Linked DNA regions of Homo sapiens: regions 2, 3 and 4 are each linked to region 1. Evidence: promoter capture Hi-C in 16 types of primary human blood cells and fetal thymus (Javierre and others, 2016). All regions are on one chromosome and are shown on one strand. The core of a region is centred on a gene start or on the middle of the fragment in contact, and the rest is flanking DNA. Distances in the headings are between cores, read along the strand shown.

Region 1 (2,700 bases), core at 1-2,500:
TTCACTGACGGCTTGCAATTCCTCCCCAAATCCCATCCCCAGGCCTTGCTGGCCCTTGCAGAGGCACTGATACCTGTTTCACTGCCACTGTCCGGGTCTCAGGATCTGCGACCAGCTCCACTGAGGATTGGAGGGGTGGAGTCAGGATTTGCATCCTTGTGTGATTGGGTCCCTCATTTCTGGGGAGTGTGGCCTGCTTCAGGCTATAGCATCCAGGGAGTAAGAGGCAGTTTATTTCTACATGGGATTGGCTCCTTGACATGCAGTAGCCAGATAGTGGCACTAGGATTGCCTGACACTGGTCCTTGCAAGGGACAGGGAGGTACTTTTCTCTACAGAATTGGTTTCCTCCTTGACAAAAAATGTGGCTAGATATAGGTCCGGGGCTTGGCCTGTTACCATCCATCCCAACCTAGCGACATTTACTTTTCTCCACAGGATCATTTTTCTCTTGACGAAGGTCGTCGCCTGTTTCTGGATTTCCCGATGGCCTGAGCATCATCCGCGCAGTGAACATCCTCCCTAAATCGGCTCGATCCCCTCTCCCCCAAAGGATCTAGCTAATTCTAAATCAAGCACAAACTTTATCTTCCTGTACTCCCTAGAGAGCACCTTCCGACTTCGGGGCTGGCTGCACCACTGCAATCCCGCGTAGCAGCCAAGCGTCCCTCTGGATTGTTCCCGCTTTTGCAGCAGGCCACACCCCCTCCAGCTCAGGCCCCGCTCACCTTGAGTTCTGGAGCACTTCCGGTCCGTAACCTGGGTCAGGGGTCCCCTGCCCAGGACCAGGGCTTGCCCGTCCGAGGGCAGGAAGATGGGGGGCGCTCCCCCAGGGGGGCTCTCGAGCCACAAGCGGCCCGGGGCCTCCACCTCGCCCATCCTGGGTGCCGGCCTGGGGAGCAGGTAAACGGGCTTGAGCGGCGCACAGCCCCAATTTGCTGCAGGAAGTCCCGCCTCCTCCCACATCCACTAGAAAGTTTCCCCACCATTAACTGCTCCGGAAGTCCCACCCGCTCGCCTTCCGCGGGTCGACCCGTTTCCCAGGCGACGACGCGTGCTCCATCCCTCCCCGAGTTGCAATCCCCACTTTCCAGCGTACAGGCAGAGAGCCTCGCACATGCCTCCGCCCCGCCCCGTACTCACCCGGGACCGCGGCTTGGGCTCACGGCCACTTCCGACCAGGGAGGTCCTGCCCGAGGTGCCCCGCCTGCAACCCGGCCGGCGGCGGTCGGTTCCTCGGCGGACGGAAATGACTCGTCCCCTCGTGGGTGGGGGGCGGGGCCTGGCCTCCTCCCACAGCAGCCACGCCCCTTCCCCGACTCCCGGCCCCCAGGGTCTCTCGGCAGCCCTGACCTTCATCTCTCTTGCTGCAACGCGAGGCTCAGGCCGGTAGCGGGGACTGGATCCTCCGTTAGCAGATTTGCCTCTTTCCACCTTGACTTCTAATTTTCATCCCAGGGAGGAAGATTTTTTTCCCATCTGATGGTCATTGTCAGTCGAGGAAACCTCCGCCCCCGACAGCGCCCCTAAGTCCTTCTTTGGCTTCACCCTCGATGTTCTAGTTTCCTCATCTATAAAAAGGATAATCGTTTCCGCTTCGTGGGGTTACCATGACGATTAAAGGAGCTAACACGTGACAAAAGCTTTAAAAAATGGGTGGTAGTGAGCCCTGTTTAAGTCTTTTTTTTTTTTTTTTTTTGAGACGGAGTCTCACTCTGTCGCCCAGGCTGGAGTGCAGTGGCGCGATCTCGGCTCACCTGCAAGCTCCGCCTCCCGGGTTGACGCCATTCTCCTGTCTCAGCCTCCCGAGTAGCTGGGACTACAGGCGCCCGCCACCACGCCCAGCTAATTTTTTGTATTTTGAGTAGAGACGGGGTTTCACCGTGTTAGCCAGGACGGTCTCGATCTCCTGATCTCGTGATCCGCCCACCTCGGCCTCCCAAAGTGCTCAGATCCGTTTAAGTCTTATTTAGTGTTAGCATTCTTTCGGTAGTGGTCTGGTGGGACTACGTTTACCTAGTCCTAATTTCGGACGAGGTTCCACCTGCTTTCTAACCTCCAGCCATTTTTTTTTCCCTTTGGAGAAGGGGTCTCACTGTGCTGCCCAGGCTGATCTCGACCTCCTGGTGTCATGTGATCCTCCCGCCTTGGCCTCCCAGCGTGTTGGGCTTATAGGCGTGAGGCACCAAGCCCAGTTGCTCCAGTCCTTTTATAATAGAAGACTCCCGGCTGGAGTTCCTGGCTTTGCTGGTGAATATGTGGGCTCTGTCTCCAACACTCACCTCCTCAAGATTGGGTTCCATGGTCACATAAGACTGGGATGCTCTCCTCCACCCCATGAACCTGTGTCTTCATATCTATAAAATGGGCACAAAGCCAGGCGCCGTGGCTCACGCCTGTAATCCCAGCACTTTGGGAGGCCAAGGCGGGTGGATCATTTGAGGTCAGGAGTTCAAGACCATCCTGACCAACATGATGAAACCCTGTTTCTACTGAAAATACAAAAATTACCCGGGCGGCAGTGGCGCGTAATCCCAGCTACTCGGGAGGTTGAGGCAGGAGAATCGCTTGAACCTGGGCGAGAGTGGGACCCTGTCTCAAAAAAGTAAATAAAATGGGCACAGTAATTCCAACCCCCAGCTATTCACTGATAATCAGACGCTGCCATTCGGTTTCAGAAAATGTTGAATGAACACTCAC
Region 2 (2,700 bases), core at 1-2,500, 1.2 Mb before region 1:
CATCCAGCTCTGCTCACCTTCTGCTCCTCCGGCACCTGGATTTTTCTTGCCTTCTTCATGATTGGCTGGGGCTTAAGTTCCTCTTCTGAGAAGCGATGTCTTCGAGGGTCAAAGGTCTCGTGGCCAGGAATGCTTGATAGGGCAAGATCAGCTGGGTCGGGTTCAAAGGTCATCAACACCTCCACGGTGTCTGGGTCCACAGGGCTGGGTGTGTCCCGAGAGGTCAGGCCTTGGGGAAACAGCACGTGTCAGCTGAGTGTGTATTTTAAGGAGGGGGTTTCCTGAAGCTACTTTTTGCTGTGGTATCATAGCCACATGGAAAGTCCTTCTGGGATCTAGCATAAATTCGGCCAGGGATTAATCTCCCTAATATAAAATATGAAGGTTCCCTTGGCCAGGCGCAGTGGCTCACGCCTGTAACCCCAGCAGTTTGGGAAGCCGAGGCGGCGAATCACCTTTAGTCAGGAGTTCAAGACCAGCATGGCCAACATGGAGAAACCTCATCTTTACTAAAAGTACGAAAATTGCCCAGGTGTAGTGGCGGGTGCCGGTAAGCCCAGCTACTAGGGAGGCTGAGGCTGGAGAATTGCTTGAACCCGGACCCTGGAGGTGGAGGTTGCAGTGAGCTGAGATCATACCACTGCACTCCAGCCCGGACAACAGAGCGAGACTCCGTCTCCAAAATAACGAGAAAAATGAAGGTTCCCCTAAGCCATAAAGATGCTTAGAGATCATGGAGCCATATCCACCTTTACAAACAAGGAAACTGAGTCCCAGTCATAACTGACTTGCCCTAGGTAACACACGAATCAGGGCTATTGCTTCTACACTTGATCTTAGCCAAAAGGCCGAGAAGCGATGGGGCTATTGCTTCTAAAACCTCAGGACTTCAGATGCACAGTCTAGCCTGAATCCTACTTACCGAATCCACGACCTAAGCTTAGACCCCAGACTGTCCAGAGAAAAAGAATCTACTGCACTGAAAAGCTCTCAAGTTAGAGTCTAAGAGCTACTCGCTGGAAAGAGGAGGAGAAGCTGCTCTAAGGTTCCAGAAGATTGGTTCGAAAGGAGGCGCCTGTACCTTTAAGCACCAGCCAGCCGGGGCCAGCTAAGGACACAGGTTCAGGGCCGAGTCACGTGCTGACGCCTGCTTCCCTCCTCCTCCCTTCCTCCCAGGCCCCCGCCATCGGCGCCCTCACGTTCCCCCGGCCCCGCCCCCCTCGCGCTTGAAGGCGCCTGCGCGAAGCGCGGAGGAGGGATGGGAGGACTCACGTGGCGCAGGAATGTGCCGCTGGGAAGGGTAGGGCCCTGGTTCGGCCCGGAGGTCGGACCTGGAGCAGGTGTGCCCAGGAATCCCCGACCTGCAGTCCGTCCCTGGAGACCTCAATGTGCCCAAAGGGAAACATCTTTCCTCTTGCTCTTCCAGTCACTTAGTTCCACTCAACCTCCAAAGATTCCCAACCCCCTGCTCTCCGGGGAGCATCGGCCTCCTGGACCTTCCCAGAACCCCCGCCACTGGGCTACCACGATTCTGGGATCCCAGGCCTCTCCTAGGAATATAGGAAGCTTGGCCCCAGCCCCAATTGGAGGATCCAGAAACAACATCCCTAACGTTTTCCCTTCTGAAGAACTCTGGGACCCGGGGCTGCAGCACGCCCCACTGGGGGACCCAGGGACCTGGGCTGCCAGTCTCTTATGTCCTGGGTAAACAGAATTCTGTGCCTCTCCTTTGCCTTTGCCCCTGTAAAGGACCTAGGGGCTCCAGTCCTATCCCAGTTCCATCGATTATGGGCCCAGATTCGGGGGTCAGTCCACTCCCCAGTAAATAACTCTGGTGTTCCGGACTTCCAGTTCTGGCTTCACGAGTATCCACATCGTTTGTCCCCAAGTCCCACAGAAAAACCCACAAAATCTCATTGGGCAGGCTTCCTGGAATTTAGGGTTCCAAGTCTCTCCTCCCCCATGGATCCATTGGTCCCTGACCCATTAAGAGACACCGAATCTGGCCCCCTCCCACGACACCTCTCGACAACTGGACACAGAATTCGAGGCCGCAGCCAGGTCCCACGGTCCCAGCCCCCAGCGTCGCACAGCCCCGCCCCCTGAGTCCAAGCCCCGCCCCGTCAGGACCCGCCCCGCCCCCTTCGCCGCACCTGCGCGGTGGCCGCTGGCGGTCCCGAGGGCAGCCCGGGCGGGGGCGTGCCCAGGAGAGGAGCGGGGGGAAGCCGAGCCGCACGAACCCGGCCCTGGGGAGGGTGCGGGCGTCCGCGCGGGCGACGGCTCCGGCGACGGGCCACCGGGGGGCGGCGGGCTGGGCGGGAGCCCGTGCTCCAGCAGGAAGGCGTCCAGGTCTACGTACTCCACATCGCCGAACGGCAGCGTGCGCTCCCACAGCAGTGGCGCCAACAGACCCGGGGCGGGCACCGGCCCCGGGCGCCCCCGCGGGGACCCTCCGCCCACCACTGCCCCAGCCGGGGCATCCGCCGGGCCCGCAGTCTCCAGGCCTGGCCCAGGGGTTGTGGCTGCAGGCAGGGCCGCCTTGCGCTCCTTTTCCTTCAGGAGACCTGCGGGCCGGGAAAGACGGGTTGGGATGAGGGTGAGGTGGGGGAGATAGAGATGGAGAAGAGACCCCGAGTCCGAGAGGCACAGGGCGGAGATCCAGAGAAAGAGGGGACGGGGGGTCGGAGAGGAGAGACGGGA
Region 3 (2,700 bases), core at 76-2,575, 1.6 Mb before region 1:
TAAAAACACAAAAACAATTAGCTGGGTGTGGTGGTGGGCACCTGTAGTCGCAGCTACTCGGGAGGCTGAGGCAGGAGAGTGCTTTCAGAGAAACTTCTTGATCACAAGGGGAAATCTGAAAGTTGTCAGAACAAAATGGAGTCACTTATGTTAAGATAACCCTGACAAATAGAGCCAGGAAGGCCATGAAGAGAGGGCTCTTATCCTTGCATGCCTGAAGATGAAAAAGACTCTACAAAACCCACAACCTTACATAAAGGTCTTCACAACCTTAAAAAAATATATATTTCTGCAAGGAATGCTGCCCAGCAACTGCTGGTCCAACCTAGGACTAATGTCACCCTTGTTACTGATCTTTGTAGCCAAGGAAAATTCTGTTAAAACAATATGCAATCCTCCCCATTTCTGTCTTCCTTTATCTCCCTGAATATACACATAGTTTAATACGGCATGTCTATTCCCAATTGCAATGCTCTATTCCCAAATAAACATTGTTTCCGGCTGGGCGCAGTGGCTCACGCCTGTAATCCCAACACTTTGGGAGGCCAAGGCGGGCTGATCTCGAGGTCAAGAGACGGAGACCATCCTGGCCAACATGGTGAAACCCCGTCTCTACTAAAAAATAAAAAATTAGCTGGATGTGGTGGTGCACGCCTGTAGTCCCAGCTACTTGGGAGACTGAGGCACGAGAATCGCTTGAACCTGGGAGGCAGAGGTTGCAGTGAGCCAAGATCATGCCACTGTACTCCAGCCTAGCCACAGAGCGAGACTCCATCTCAAAAAGAAAAAAAAATTGTTTCCCTTAGGAAGCTTTCATATGTTTGTTAGTTAGGTTAACACTTCTAATAATTAAAGTTATACAGTTACAGTGTAAAATTATTAGTATTAACAACATAAACATTGGTATAAAAATTATTATTACAGAAATTAAAACAAATTGAGTGTGAGAGAGATTATTAAGACTGTCCAAGCCAAGTCACTGAAGTCATAAATTTAAGTTATGACAGGATGCCGAGCTTCCAGAGGGTTTTGTTTTTAACAAGGGAGGGGCCCTATTTCCCCTTCTGACACGCTCATATGAACTTCTCACTTTGTCGTACTCCTTCCTTGCTGACTAAGAGGAACAGAACACAGAGCAGCCTGGCGGTGTCCTACCAACAAGCCTCCGTTTCTCCTTCCTGTACACTAGGGCTCCTGAAACTCACCTGGTAAGCGCTCCAGAAAAGCAGCAGGTGGTGACTTTAGGGTAGGACGGGCCAAATGGGAGAATCCCCTTAGGTCGGTTTCTCTGGTTCTCAACTTCTTTTGAAATAACGCTCGCAGAGGAGGTGGGCTTTCTGAGAACTGAGGGAAGTAAGCTCTCAGGACTTCCGGTCGCCATGATGGCTGTGGGCAGTCAATGGGGTCAGTGCAAGCATCTGGGCCATCTTTAATGTGGGCAGGAAAAAAACACGATTACACTTACTTCTGCAGAGTTTATAATATCCTTGTTCATTATTTAAAATAAAATATCTAAGACATAGGTAATAGTATATTTTAAATAAAATTGAAGCAATATATGAAATTTCTCTGGAATTCATCCAGCCACTCTCAGCTGTTACCACTATCCAGAAACGTCTTAATCCGCCTGCATGATTTATGTATTTGGTTTGTATTTTAAATATCATTTTCTGTAATATTTAAAAGTTGTATTTGCTTGGTATCCTGCTATGCATTCTCATGCAATTTGATTTTTAATCAATATTACTTTTTTTTTTTTTTGAGATGAAGTCTCCGTCTGTCACCCAGGCTGGAGTGTAATGGAGCAATCTCGGCTCACTGCAACCTCTGCCTCCCAGGTTCAAGCGATTCTCTTGCCTCAGCCTCCCGAGTAGCTGGAATTATAGGTGCATGCCACCACGCTCGGCTAATTTTTTGTATTTTTAGTAAAGACGGAGTTTCACCATGTTGGTCAGGATGGTCTCCGTCTCTTGACCTCGAGATCAGCCCGCCTCGGCCTCCCAAAGTGCTGGGATTACAGGCGTGAGCCACTGTGCCCGGCCTTGGTTTCTAAATACTATTTTGAAGTATCTGTGGAGAAATGGTTACTTCGAGGGCTGGGGCAGGAATATATAAGATAACATTGGAACAAATTCTGACGCCAGAACATGAAGAAATATTTGAAAAAGGATGGGGCATATTGACTGAACACAGAAGACAAACATGCATGACCTCAGCCTAATCGTGAGAAAACATCAAAGAAATCCAAATTGATAAACATTCTGTAAAATAATTGGCCATGCTCAGCAAAAGTGTCACAATCACAAAAGACAAGGGAAGAATAAGAAACGGTCACAGCCTGGAGGAATCTAAGGACATAACAACTGAGTGCAATGTGAGATCCTCGATTCGATCTTGGAGAAGAAAGAGGACGTTAAGAGAAATATTGACAAAATTCAAATAAGGTCTGCACATTAGGTAATGGTAAGATACGTTGACATCAATTTCCTGGTTGGATACTTGTATTACATATACTATTATGTATATAATTATTATATTACAATTACATATACAGTTGTATATTATATATAATACAATAAATGTATATATATGATTATAATACAATAAATGTATATATACAGTTTTATATATAACAACTATTATACATATAATACAATTATATATATAGCTAACATCAGGATAGGCTGGTTGAGGATTTAT
Region 4 (2,700 bases), core at 179-2,678, 1.5 Mb before region 1:
ATGATTACAGCGTTGTGACTTTATAGGTACAATTATTATCAGGTAGTAGAAATAGTAATGATGAGGATGATTACTATACCCATCTTAAAGAGGGAAAAACCATGCCCCAGAGAGTGCCTGTTCAAGCCCTCAGAACAAGCCAGAGTTGGGAATGGATGCTGCGTCTGCATCTCGGAGACCTGGCTCCTGCATTCCAGCTCATCTCCCGCCCACTAGGGAAACACGAAGGGACCCGGGAACTACAACTCCCAGGAGGCGCCAGGGCAGCTCTCTGCAGCAACTAGGGCCCTGCCGCCGCGAAGCCTGCTGGGAGCCGTAGTCCCCAGGCTCTTGGGCCTGGGACAGGCGGTACCTGTATTAGGAGGCGGAGCAGCTGCTCCTTGGAGAAGGGAATGAAGCGCTCGCGGTACTGCTGGGCCCAGTCGCGGGGCTCCCTGGGGTTCCACATCTTGCGATACTCCCCCATTTTGGCTGCCAGCGATGAGAGGGCCCGGGGGGGCCCGAGGAGCGCGGGCAACAGTGGCCATACTCGGACCCTGGACCCCCAGACCCCCCGGGTCACATGCAGCATGGCTAGACCCTTTCCCCGGAGCCTAAACAGAGGAAAATGGGCAGGGGTCAAAGGCCATCTAGAGGAAAAGCGCCCTCTCCACCTCCACGTCCCACCCTCCAGAAGCCGTCTCTACCCCAGGCAGGGCGCAGAGCCCATCCGCTCGCCTCAAAGCCCCTGTTGCCTGTCCCCTTCCCACACTGCTCAGTTGGCCTGGGTCCCAGACAGGGGTCAGAGGTCTTAGGTTCTGGGGCGTTTTTCAGGCCCAGAGACCCTGTAGTGGTACAACGTTTCTTTGGGGTCTAGACAGCGAGGTAGATCTTAGGAGAGCAGGAAATGCTCGTAAAGGTTACCTAGGGGGTGCAGGGCCGCCCTCCCTGGCCATGCAATCCCCCGATTTCTCCCTCACCTTAGCCAAAGCTCGACTGTCATTGAGCCTCCTGCGCATGTGCAGGAGGGCGTCCTGGGCTCCCGAGGTTCGGCTTCACCCAGCAGTAAAACGCATGCGCAAAGCTTCGGTCAATGCGGGCTGTCCATTTCTCACCGCCGACTCCCTACATCAACTACGCATGCGTTGCCTGCCTTTCTCCACCGCCGGCCTCGTTTGGGCGCGACGCATGCGCCGCAGGAGTGTCTCCTTGTCAGCTTGCTACAAAGGGAAGGGGCGGTGTGGACGCGAGACTCCCTAGAGGGATGGGGCGGGGTAGGGCTCCCGCGCGCAGTCCGCCAACGGCGCGCAGTCCAACGTTCGCCGAGGCCACGCCCCGGCTCGTGTCAGCTCCTGAGTAGGCGGAAAGAGGGAGGGGGCGGGACTTGGGCGCAGCCAATCAGCTGTGGAGGAGCGAAAAGGCGGGAAAAAGCGGAACCAAAAGAAGGCTGAGGTGGCGCTAGGGACCAGGAGGGGTGGGGGTGGCGAAAGGAAGGGCGGGCCCTCAGGTGACGCAGATTGGCCCTCCAGAGAAGGGGCGGCCCCTTCTCAGGTGCCGTCACCCCCAAACCTCAGCACTGCCATTCCAGGTCCTTAAAGGGGAGACCGCGATTCTAAGAAGGTAGCCCAGTGCCGGGGCGTGGCCTCATTCTGAGGTTCCCCACAAATCCGAGGTCCCGACTCCCAGCTTGAGGAGGTGCACTTCCGTGAAAATGGAGCTGAATTCGAAAGGGAGGCCCTTATTCTGGGAAATGGCCCCAAGTGACAAGGACAGCCTGAAATATGCCCTGAGATACCTGGGTTCTCCACGAAGGGTGCTGTCACCCCCAAACCTGAAAGGGATTATTCGGTTTCAGACCTCCCAGGGGCTCTGATCTCAATGGCCGCACCCCCTAGTCCCCAGAAAGTCCCACCTGTGTCCTCTCACAGAAGGACCCAGTCCCTCTGCAGGCCCTTCAGCTCCTGGGTCACAAGACGTGGTCCCCAAATATCCCAGCCCTCCCCTGCACTCCACCTCTGGGATCCCTGACAGCCCTCTCGCCCAACAACCCCCTCAGCCCACATTCCTGACTTCTGGAACCTGAAGCAGCCCCTTCACTTATGTCCCCCACTCCTGGGACCCCCAGAATCACCCTCACCCCAGGCCCTCACCTCTCTGGAATCCTCCATAGACCCCCTTAACCCACACCTCAACCCAGGGGACCCTTAGCGACTCTCTCATCCTGCACCTCCACCTCTGTGACCCCTGGCAGCCCTCCCCACACGACACCTTGCCTGGGACCCCTAGTATCCCCATCCTATGCCCCCCTCTCCTGGGACCCCCAGAAAGCTCCCTCACCACACACAACCCCATTCCTGGGAACCCCCAGCACCCGCATCCTATGTCCCCCACTTCAGGGACCCCTAGCAGCCCTCTCCACACAACACCTTTCCTGGGACCCCCCAGAACCCCCATCCTATGCCTCCCACTTCTGGGACCCCTAGTAGCCCCCTCACCACACAACCCCATTCCTGGGACCCCCAGCACCCCCATCCTATGCCCCCCACTCCTGGGGCCCACAGAAGCCCCCTCAGCACACACAACCTCATTCCCTGGGACCCACCTGCACCCCCATCCTACGTCCCCGACTTCTGGGGCCCCTGACAGCCCATTCACCCCACACCCTGACTCCTAAGAGGCTCAGCAGTCCCCTCACCCCACACAACTCCATTCCGGGGACCC

What was found. The method cuts DNA at HindIII sites, captures the fragments that hold promoters and counts their contacts. A CHiCAGO score of 5 or more calls a contact.
Region 2: a fragment that was not itself captured here is called in contact with the fragment with the promoter of PNKP in region 1 in 2 of 17 cell types (naive B cells and naive CD4 T cells); the score reaches 8.7 in naive B cells.
Region 3: the fragment with the promoter of CARD8 here is called in contact with the fragment with the promoter of PNKP in region 1 in 1 of 17 cell types (naive B cells); the score reaches 5.3 in naive B cells.
Region 4: the fragment with the promoter of SYNGR4 here is called in contact with the fragment with the promoter of PNKP in region 1 in 1 of 17 cell types (naive CD4 T cells); the score reaches 6.1 in naive CD4 T cells.

The regions. Positions count from the first base shown.
Region 1 is chr19:49,866,326-49,869,025 of GRCh38, forward strand. It overlaps PNKP (polynucleotide kinase 3'-phosphatase), which reads right to left and starts at 1,251. Exons shown (of 17, transcript NM_007254.4): 1 at 1,144-1,251; 2 at 729-892; 3 at 74-120. The coding sequence starts at 879. RefSeq lists enhancers at 1-706, 707-1,488 and silencers at 648-1,017, 1,088-1,387. The HindIII fragment of the contact is 3,228 bases long and covers 1-1,641 here.
Region 2 is chr19:48,633,427-48,636,126 of GRCh38, forward strand. It overlaps DBP (D-box binding PAR bZIP transcription factor), which reads right to left. Exons shown (of 4, transcript NM_001352.5): 2 at 2,154-2,564; 3 at 18-229. Among named protein-coding and RNA genes, the nearest start is that of DBP, 2.6 kb to the right of the region's middle. RefSeq lists silencers at 1,125-1,304, 2,015-2,324, 2,445-2,504. The HindIII fragment of the contact is 627 bases long and covers 938-1,564 here.
Region 3 is chr19:48,254,587-48,257,286 of GRCh38, forward strand. It overlaps CARD8 (caspase recruitment domain family member 8), which reads right to left and starts at 1,326. Exons shown (of 14, transcript NM_001184900.3): 1 at 1,206-1,326. It overlaps CARD8-AS1 (CARD8 antisense RNA 1), which reads left to right and starts at 1,089. Exons shown (of 2, transcript NR_040599.1): 1 at 1,089-1,208; 2 at 1,765-2,700. RefSeq lists an enhancer at 1,195-1,434. The HindIII fragment of the contact is 2,537 bases long and covers 809-2,700 here.
Region 4 is chr19:48,362,939-48,365,638 of GRCh38, forward strand. It overlaps SYNGR4 (synaptogyrin 4), which reads left to right and starts at 1,429. Exons shown (of 5, transcript NM_012451.4): 1 at 1,429-1,599. It overlaps TMEM143 (transmembrane protein 143), which reads right to left and starts at 1,002. Exons shown (of 8, transcript NM_018273.4): 1 at 960-1,002; 2 at 353-593. The coding sequence starts at 982. RefSeq lists enhancers at 554-603, 1,084-1,203, 1,574-1,723. The HindIII fragment of the contact is 5,293 bases long and covers 1,062-2,700 here.